Regions from separate parts of the Homo sapiens genome. Here regions 2 and 3 are each linked to region 1. Evidence: promoter capture Hi-C in 16 types of primary human blood cells and fetal thymus (Javierre and others, 2016). All regions are on one chromosome and are shown on one strand. Each heading gives the region's core, a stretch centred on a gene start or on the middle of the fragment in contact. The rest is flanking DNA. Distances are from core to core; before and after follow the strand shown.

Region 1 (3,009 bases), core at 268-2,767:
AACTGCTTCTCATGTCAATGACTGAATAGGTTTTAAAACCATTTTCTGAAAAGTTTCTGAAAATCTACTGGCAACAATTGAAGGGACCCAGGGGAGGTCCTGAATATTAGAATGGTAATGTGACCTAGATTCACGTCTTTTATTCTTTTTGATAGAGGGCATCTACAGTCTCATTCTATGTTAAAAGAAATGTTCCCTAACAGAGAACTGAACATTACAGAGATCCGGGCCTTGGAAGTGGGTGCAGTACCATGCAGATCTGTATTATTTCCCTTTAGGGAAGAGAGTGAACATGTTTTTGGTTGTAAATGAGATAGCTGTACTGTTTTGTATCTATTTAAAACAAATAGTTTTTGAAACTATGAAACATTTTAGATACCTAAGTATAGACTCTATAAAGAACACTGGCCACCTATGTGGCCACCTTGGGGCCCTTAATAAATATTTAAAAATTCATGGAAACTCCTCCCTTTCCCTGAATGTAACTGCCATTCCGAGTTTTCTATATATCATTCTCCTGCATTTTAAACTCATATGGATCTATTTTAAATATATTGTCTTTTAAACACCAACTATAAATGATACCATACTTTACCTATCCGTCTGCAATCTGTTTTGCTCATTTAACAGCGTATTTTTCAGATGTATCCATATTGTTACATGCAGTTCTACTTCATCACTGTTGTTTTCAGGGCTTGCAAAAGCGTTTCTTTAGGTCCATCCTCCTGAGCGTGTGCTCACCCCAAGGCCCCGGCGGTGGCCAAGTGTCCGCCCATGCGGTGTAAAGGGGAAGTGGAACGCGTAGAGAAGGATTTTGGCAGCTCTGCTTGCCTGGAATTCCAGTCCTAGAATTCTAAATTCGGACTTGATCTTCCAGACTGTTAGGAAGATATATTTAAGGTAGGAGGCTAGAACGTATCTCCTTTAGTATATAGCTTCATTTACAACTTTTAAATATTCAGTCAAAAAGTATGTGGGCCTTCATTTACACTTTTGACGGGGCCTCACAAATAGGGGTGGTCTGCCCCTTTCCTTACGTCCCACTCTTTCTTCAAATTAAATTGCTACAGCAGGAAATTACTGAACTGTGGCTCTTCTCCTACGTCCGCCTTCCCTATGTCAATTCCCATTTCCCTTGCTTTCTCCAATAGTTAGGACTGTAAATTCTAACTTTGTTAATTTCGACGCCAAGCTGGAATGAAGACGCTAAGTGGACGCTAAAAAGACACGCTGTTTGTCACACAAGGCCTCCAACTGGGACGGCGTCCACCGCGCCCCGCCCCGCCCGCGGCACCGTGGCATCTTGGGACATGTAGTCTTTGGAGGGGCAGCTGCCTCCACCAAGTCTCCTCCCCCAAGACGCTGCCTTTCGGCCTCGGGACGCCGTGACGTTGCGTTCCTCCAGTCCCTTGCCACCTCCCTCTTTCTTCCCCTCTGGGGAAGCTCAGTGCTGGACTTCCGAAGACCTTTTACGACATTGAGTCTCGGAGTTGGTCTCAGCGCCGGATCCACTTTTCGGCAAAGTGACGTGGACGTCAACAGCAATGGCGGAAGGAGAAGATGTGCCGCCGCTGCCAACGTCGAGCGGCGACGGCTGGTGAGTGAAAGCCGGGGCTAATTTCCAATGCCCCTTTATTCTTCCTTCTCACCATCTTGCCGGTCCCCGAGGAGCCGTCTGGCGTCGGCATGGAACGGAGAGGCCGGTCCTAGGCGAAGTCCGGTGCCCTGCCCTACCCCTCTGCCAGCTGGGTGCCCCCTGCCTGCCTGGTTCTGCCCAAGGGACTGGGGCGGGACTCCCAAGGAGAGGGGTGTCATCCAGGTGCTGGGCCTCAGAACGGTCCTCCTGTGTCGTCTGTCAGTCTCCAAAGTGTGCTGGAGTGGGTGGCTTCAGGGCTGGGTTTGGCCGGAGTCCTGGCTGTGGGAGTTGGAGTAGGCTGAAGAAGGAAGTTTGTTGGATGCAGATCTGAGTCACTAAAATACAATGTGAAGAAAAGACGTTTTGAAATGACCACTGCGACCTTCGCCTGAGGGTTCAGAGGTTGACCCGAGGAGAATCCCTCCCACTTAGTTGGTATACTTTTTTTTATTCTGGCTGTTATCTCGTTTTGCATTCCAACAGTTTTCATCGTTCGTCTCCTTCACGCAAGTCATCTTTTCCCCTACTACCACATTTCTCACAGCTCGATTTCTGAGCTTTGGATGCAGTGTGGGACTTTGCTCTTACTGCACCCAAGCTGTTGCATGCTTACCTGATTTATACTCGGGATTGTGGGGGAAGACCGCCAATAATTTTTTGGTAAACTGCTCACCCAGTGTTAATCTTTGGGAAAGGCTTCTACTTTTGAAATAGTTGATCTCACGATACACTGTTAGGTTGTACAACATCATTTTTTAAAAAGGGACCTTTAGAGGCTTGTCTAAATTTTACAGTTGATCTAAGTGTATTGACCACATGTATTAGTTTTGGATTTGCTTGTTCGTTATATTGTATGTGTACAGCTCATGGGCACTTTAAAAATAATACAGGACATTGATAGACATCGACTTTAATCCCAGAGGAAAAAAATGGAAATCGTTGAAAGGGATAGATAATTAGTAATTAAGAAATTCAGCTCTCCATTAGCAGACATCAAACATTACCGTAGCGCTGGGCTCTCCAAGGTGTCAGAGGAAAACTTCATGGTGATCTAGATATAGTTTTTTTTTCTTCAACTTGCTTATGTTGGAGTTGGGAAGGTGTAACAAGGTAAAATTAATCTTATTCTTTGTGAGTGTGATTCAAAGTGTTACGAGAGGTTGGCGGTGGGGGCTGGGGCAGTTGGAGTCACTGGGGGAAAGCTTCATGAAAGCAGCAGTGTTTCAACTAGGCTTTGAAGAATAAGTAGGATTTAAGCCCCAGGGCTGTCTAATAGAAGCCACATATTGTAATTTAAAATTATGTAGTAGCAGCATTTAAAACTGAAAAGAAGGCTGGGCGCGGTGGCTCACGCCTGTAATCCCAGCACTTTG
Region 2 (3,009 bases), core at 274-2,773, 1.4 Mb before region 1:
CCCGGCTCCTGAACTGACCACTAATTTACGGGGATTAGGCAAAGGACAACAGCATGAAGTGCATGCCGGTGCCAAGGGATGAACCAAATAATGTGCTCAGGGTAGCAGATTAACTCTAGAAATGGGGTTCTTAATTCACATAATTTGAATGACAGACACTATGATAAGTATTAGAAATAAGAAAATGAATAAAACTCTCTCCGCTGGCAGGAATAAATACTTAGAATACAGTGTGGAATGTATTATCCGGAGATGAGTGTGTGGGGACTGTTCGAGAACTCTTCATAAAGGGATGATACCCAAGAAGGGTTTTGAAGGCTGATCGAGAGTTTACCGAGAAGACAAGGAAAGTAAGAGCATTTCAAGTAGAGGAAACTGCATATATGAAGAGGTTAGTATAGGGAACAAGGCAAAATGGCATGAAATTATATCTTAGAAGAATAAAATTAGCTCAGTCTCATATCTGAACTATACAGTGTGAGAAATGCTGGCATTAGATTAAGTCAGAGTGAAAGGGAGGGACCAGACTGTGAAAAAAATTACTTACATGATACGCAAAGGAGTTTGGACGGTATCTTACAGATGATAAAGGGGCTGCTGGCAACACTATGGAAGTCATTAACACAGCTCCAAGAGGAAAATGCCCCAGCATGTGGTACCATGCCTGGCCCACAGTAACCAACCAACGTTTTTCCAATAACTGGGCAGACACAGGGCATGAGTTCAAGAAGCAAACAGTGGAGCATGACCAGAATGAGTTTTGCTACTCATTCTAAAAGGGTGGGCTTTCACACTCCCACTTTCCTGACTCCCCAGGTTATAATCTTATGATCTTACTCTTCAAATATCTGCTGTTCCTTGTGGACAAGAAACCTACCAAACTTCAAAGCTTACCAATCTAAAACCACTTTATCAGTGAGGCGTCTCCTACTTCTCCAGGAGTTGTGAGCTTTTTCTGCCTTATACAACCTTCTTATAACCTTCCTTGATTATTATTATAGTAGGCGTCTCCTGCTTCTCCAGGAGTGGTGAGTTCTCTCTGCCTTACATAACCTTCTGATATCCTTCCTTGGTTATTATTATATATATTCCAACTTGAATTACTTTCTCAAATAGACTGTAGGTTCTCTGAAGACAATAACAATGTTTTACTCTTCTCTGAATGTCTCAGGACTATACTGAGGTACATGCACACTCTCTTGAGAGTTCACAGTTGGTACCCCTTCATACTGATAGTTCTTAATGAGAGAATGATAAAGAGTGCCAATACCTTCTCTTTGATCCCAGGCAATTCAGTTTTGAAGGCAAGGTTGCACACACCCTACTCAACAAAAGCCTTGCAGGGAATTCTGGGCCACTCTCCTTAAAAAGCAGTTGAGGGAACGTGCATCTTGGGATTCTCCCATAATTCAAGCAGCAAATCAAAGTTTTTCTTTCAATTACACACCCATCAGGGTGCACGTTCAGCTGGTGAATGATGTTTTAGTAGCCCTTGGAAATCATGAGTATCTCATCAGCTTCAGTGGGTACTGCACTGGCACTCATTAGATACTAGTTTATTTGAATATCTGTATTTTCTGTCCTCATAGGTTGTACTAATTTAACCCAAATAATGAACTGAAAAATTAGCCTGATATTTGTTTCTAAACTAACATTTTGAACTGAAATACTTTCTCAAAGATTTTTCTCCAGAATGAAGAATTCAATTAAATACAATAACAGCTCTGAACAATACAGTAATTACTTTATAAATACTGAATGTCTTATGATAAAATTTTGCATTTTGAAATTTTTGTTTTACTGTATTTTGTAGGTATGCTTATGTGTGCTAAATTAGCCTATAAGTTAATTTTACATGAACACACTATTAAAATTACAACTACAAAAGATTATGCAGGTATGTGAATATGTAATAGAAAGGAAAGTTAAAAATTATAAGTCGATGGATTAGAAGACAGAAATGTGGATAATCATCTACGTTTTTAGTTTTGAGTAATAATCATTGTTATCCATACAATATTTAAAAATAAATACAAAGTCCTATGGCCGTAAGGTTGTTATAAAGAAAACCGAATCCAGGAGCCACATCAGAAAAATTGCCAAATTGTCTCACTTCATATTTCAACAATCACACTTAGCAAATATCACTATCTTTATGAAGCTTTTCCTCATCCTTCTACTGTTGGGTCATCATTCCATATCCTTCCAAATATATCAAGAAGTGGAAGCAGAAACTGTCTACTTGTATGCATTCAATTAATGTCCAACATTACTACCTGAGCTTCACTTCCCAGTGTCACTTTGCTAAGTGTAGTCCTAAATTTAAATTCTACTCCTATGTAAATCTAGCCCTTTCCCACATACATGATCTATTAACTTTTGGAAATTAATTTGTCATTTTAATTCTACTACTGGTATTTTACTTATGCCAATTCCACCATTTTAAGATATTTTTACATGTTTGTCTTTAAAATGAGGCTCAGATGTTCAAATGGAATTATCAACTATCCCCAGGGAAAATAATATGTTCTTTTTGTTTCTAACACTGAGAAATCTACCTATAATTTACCTGCAATCTTAGAATCAATTTTTCATTTACAAGTTTCAAAAATGTGCTGTTTCAATCTGATCATTCACACGTGTGGATTGTGTGCTGCTTCTAATTTTCATTTTGTAAAATTAATTAGAAATATAGCAGAAAAGGATGCTTTGATTTATTTGCTTCTGAACAAAACTGGATAAGAGCCCCAATGTTTTATCAGACAAAGAAAAGACAATGGAAATTTCTAAATTAACCTAATGTCAATGTGAAAAATAATTACAAATGTTTATTTGCAGAGAGAAATAAGTTTTTATTTTCTGGCAACTCACAAATATTGTTCAAAAATATTTCCCTGCATCACAAGCAAATAAAGGCATTCCTTGACAGAATATAAACTTTTTCACATATTGGTTCCAAATATGTTCAAATAACTGAAACATCCTTTTTAAGAATGAACCTGATTTGTT
Region 3 (3,009 bases), core at 188-2,687, 1.3 Mb after region 1:
GAAAATAAAAAGCAAAATCATCCCAAGTGGGAGGACGTAATGGACATTTTTGGAGAGCCAACAAAACATGAAATAGTATAGGAAAGTGAGTGAATTAGGGCAGTGGTTCTCAAAGTGTGGTTCCCCAACGAGCAGCATCAGCATTACTTGGGAACTAGTTAGAAATGCAAATTTTAGGGCTCCAGCCATTGAGTCAACTGAATCAGAAACTGGCAATGGGGCCCAGCAATCTGTTTTAACATGTCCTTCAGGTGATTCTGATGTACACTGAAATTGAGAATAGTCTGAGGACATGTAATAGAATTATAAGGCTACATTAAGAACCTACTTAATGGCTCATGCCTGTAATCCGAGAATTTTGGGAGGCTAAGGCAGGAGGATCACTTCAGCCCAGGAGTTCAAGGCTGCAGTGAGCTATGAGCCACTGTACTCTAACCTGGGCAACAGAACGAGATCCTGTCTCAAAACAAAAACAAAAACAAAACAAAAAAAAGAACCTACTTAAGGTTAGTGAAATCAAGATTAGCCACTTTTCTTCTCCACTCTAATTTTTTTTTTTTTTTTTTTGGTAGCTCTTGGCCTGAATTTCAAGTTCAGCTCCACTTCTTACTTATCTTTTCCGTGCCCAAATTCCCTCTTCCATAAAAATGGGAGTAACAGTAGCACTTAATTCACAGGGTTGTAATGATTTAATGTACTGAATTTCATGTAGAATACCTGCAACAATGCTTGGTGTATAGTAAGCTTGAATAAATGTTAGATATTATAGTTGTCGCCTCACAAATTACACATCTAAATTAAAATAATAATTGCTCATATTACCTTCCATTTCCAGCCTTTTAAACCACTTAAATAGCTCACTAGAGGTTATAATCCATAGCTACTATGAAGCAAGCTCTCACCATGGCCAGGCAGCATATTATAGATTTAACCTTTATTATCCCAATGCCCTCAGTAACCCTATATGTATTATTCCATTTGTATAGTTATAACATATTCCATAACATTGTTATCCAGTACAAACTCACAGAATTAGCAAAATGCAGAATTAGAATTTAAGTCGAGTTTTTGTGTGGTGCAAAACTAATGCTCTTTGCCTTGGACTACATTGCCTATTCATTGTCAGAAAACGGTACCCCAAAATTTGGTGCTTTGACATGCTGAACTAGAGAAGCAGCCGCAAGGTTTCTCTGATCTCCCCACCCCACCTCCTGCCTCTCAATCCTCTGCCTCCCCCAAAACACGGGATAAGACTGTTCTTTGAAGTTTCTTATCTACCTAGAAACCACACACATCAAAGAACACAATTGCTTTCTATCTGCTTCCTCCCTGAAATTTCATTAACCAGAAGAAATTAAAACATATCACAAAGCCAGATACAGTGGTGCACACATGTAGTCCCAGCTACCTGTGAGTCTCAGATGGGAGGATTCTTGAGGCCAGGAGTTTGAGGCTGTAGTGTGCTATCATCATGCCTGTGAATAGCCACCACACTCCAGCCTGGGCAACACAGTGCGACCTGGTCTCATAAAAAAACAAAACTCACATCATAGAGGAAGAGACTGAAAATTAACCACCACACTTAGAGCCCAAACTTTGCCTCAAACTACTGTTTTTTGTTTTTGAGACAGGGTCTCACTCTGTCACCCAGGTTGGAGTGCAGTGGCGAGATCTTGGCTCACTGCAACCTTGCCTCCGGGGCTCAAGTGATCCTTCTATCTCAGCCTCCCTAGTAGCTGGGATTATGGGAGTGAGTCACCACGACTGGCCTTCGAATTATTATTGGTTCTCTAGTTTCACTTGGTTTACAAAGAGAATAATTTACAAGTGAATTTCTGCATTAATCTCTCCTAAAATCATTTACTACTCCTCTAAAATTGCCTGTAGCCCCCCCACCTCTCTCTCCCCTATGAAAAGTATTAAACTTCAACCATCTGACCCTTTTTTTAGTTTTCTTATTTTGTTGTATCATTCCCATGCTTATGCACATTAATTTTCTCTTGTTAACCTGTCTTTTATTAACAAGCATGTTGTCATGACTCTTTTGATGGGGAGGAAAGTGATCACCCCCTTTCCACCCCTTCATACTACACTACCTTTCCATTTCCTAACCCGTTTGTAGGAGGTTACTGAAGCTTGCATTAATTTCTTCAATAGATATTTATCCAGACTAGTATAATCCAGGTGCTGGGGAAACAGTGGTGAACAAGACAGGCACACCTCATGAAACTCACAGAACTGAAAGGTGAATGGATTACTATCTTCATCCTTTTTTTGTTTCGTTTTTTTCCTTTCATACCTAGTCCTGCACATGCATCCTTAACTTCTGCAGTGTGGTATATGGGAACTGGATCCGCTCCTAAATAGGTATGTGACTTCTCTGAGCTTTATCTTCTTCACTTAAAAATTACAAGCATCGGCCGGGCACGGTGGCTCACGCCTGTAATCCCAGCACTTAGGGAGGCTAAGGTGGGCGGATCACAAAGTCAGGAGTTCGAGACCAGCCTGGCCAACATAGTGAAACCCCGTCTCTACTAAAAATACAAACATTAGCCGGGTGTGGTGGCACGCGCCTGTTGTCCCAGCTACTCGAGAGGCTGAGGCAGGAGAATCGCTTGAACCCAGGAGGCGGAGGTTGCAGTGAGCCAAGACCATGCCATTGCACTCCAGCCTGGGTGACAGAATGAGAGACTCCATTCCACCCCCCATAAAAAATTACAAGCATCTGTAAATACATAATCTCAAATAAAAATCTTCGTGTATATCTCCATTTTTAAAATGATAGAAACGAGAGTCTCAATGATTACCTTGAAAAGATCACAAGGAAAATGAAACAAACATGAATTAAGTACCTGTAAGATAGTTTGCTGGTTACTTTTACATATATGATAAATGATGGATCAGGGACTTCAACCTAGATCACAAAATCACCACCACACTGCCCTGCTTCTGTCATGGGAAACACACTTTGATAATTTCTTCATTCTTTCTCCACTCCCTGGACTTGAA

Evidence for each region. Contacts are between HindIII fragments. The CHiCAGO score rates a contact against its expected background, and 5 or more counts as called.
Region 2: a fragment that was not itself captured here is called in contact with the fragment with the promoter of TBC1D23 in region 1 in 1 of 17 cell types (naive CD4 T cells); the score reaches 5.5 in naive CD4 T cells.
Region 3: a fragment that was not itself captured here is called in contact with the fragment with the promoter of TBC1D23 in region 1 in 5 of 17 cell types (neutrophils, naive B cells, fetal thymus and 2 more); the score reaches 7.0 in neutrophils.

The regions. Positions count from the first base shown.
Region 1 is chr3:100,259,475-100,262,483 of GRCh38, forward strand. TBC1D23 (TBC1 domain family member 23) reads left to right here and starts at 1,518. Exons shown (of 19, transcript NM_001199198.3): 1 at 1,518-1,597. The coding sequence starts at 1,545. RefSeq lists enhancers at 922-1,590, 1,326-1,815, 1,591-2,259. The HindIII fragment of the contact is 5,201 bases long and covers 1-2,836 here.
Region 2 is chr3:98,894,683-98,897,691 of GRCh38, forward strand. The region is part of intron 1 of DCBLD2 (discoidin, CUB and LCCL domain containing 2); the gene reads right to left. Among named protein-coding and RNA genes, the nearest start is that of DCBLD2, 5.5 kb to the right of the region's middle. The HindIII fragment of the contact is 1,272 bases long and covers 888-2,159 here.
Region 3 is chr3:101,569,971-101,572,979 of GRCh38, forward strand. No RefSeq gene overlaps it. Among named protein-coding and RNA genes, the nearest start is that of PCNP, 2.7 kb to the right of the region's middle. The HindIII fragment of the contact is 1,391 bases long and covers 743-2,133 here.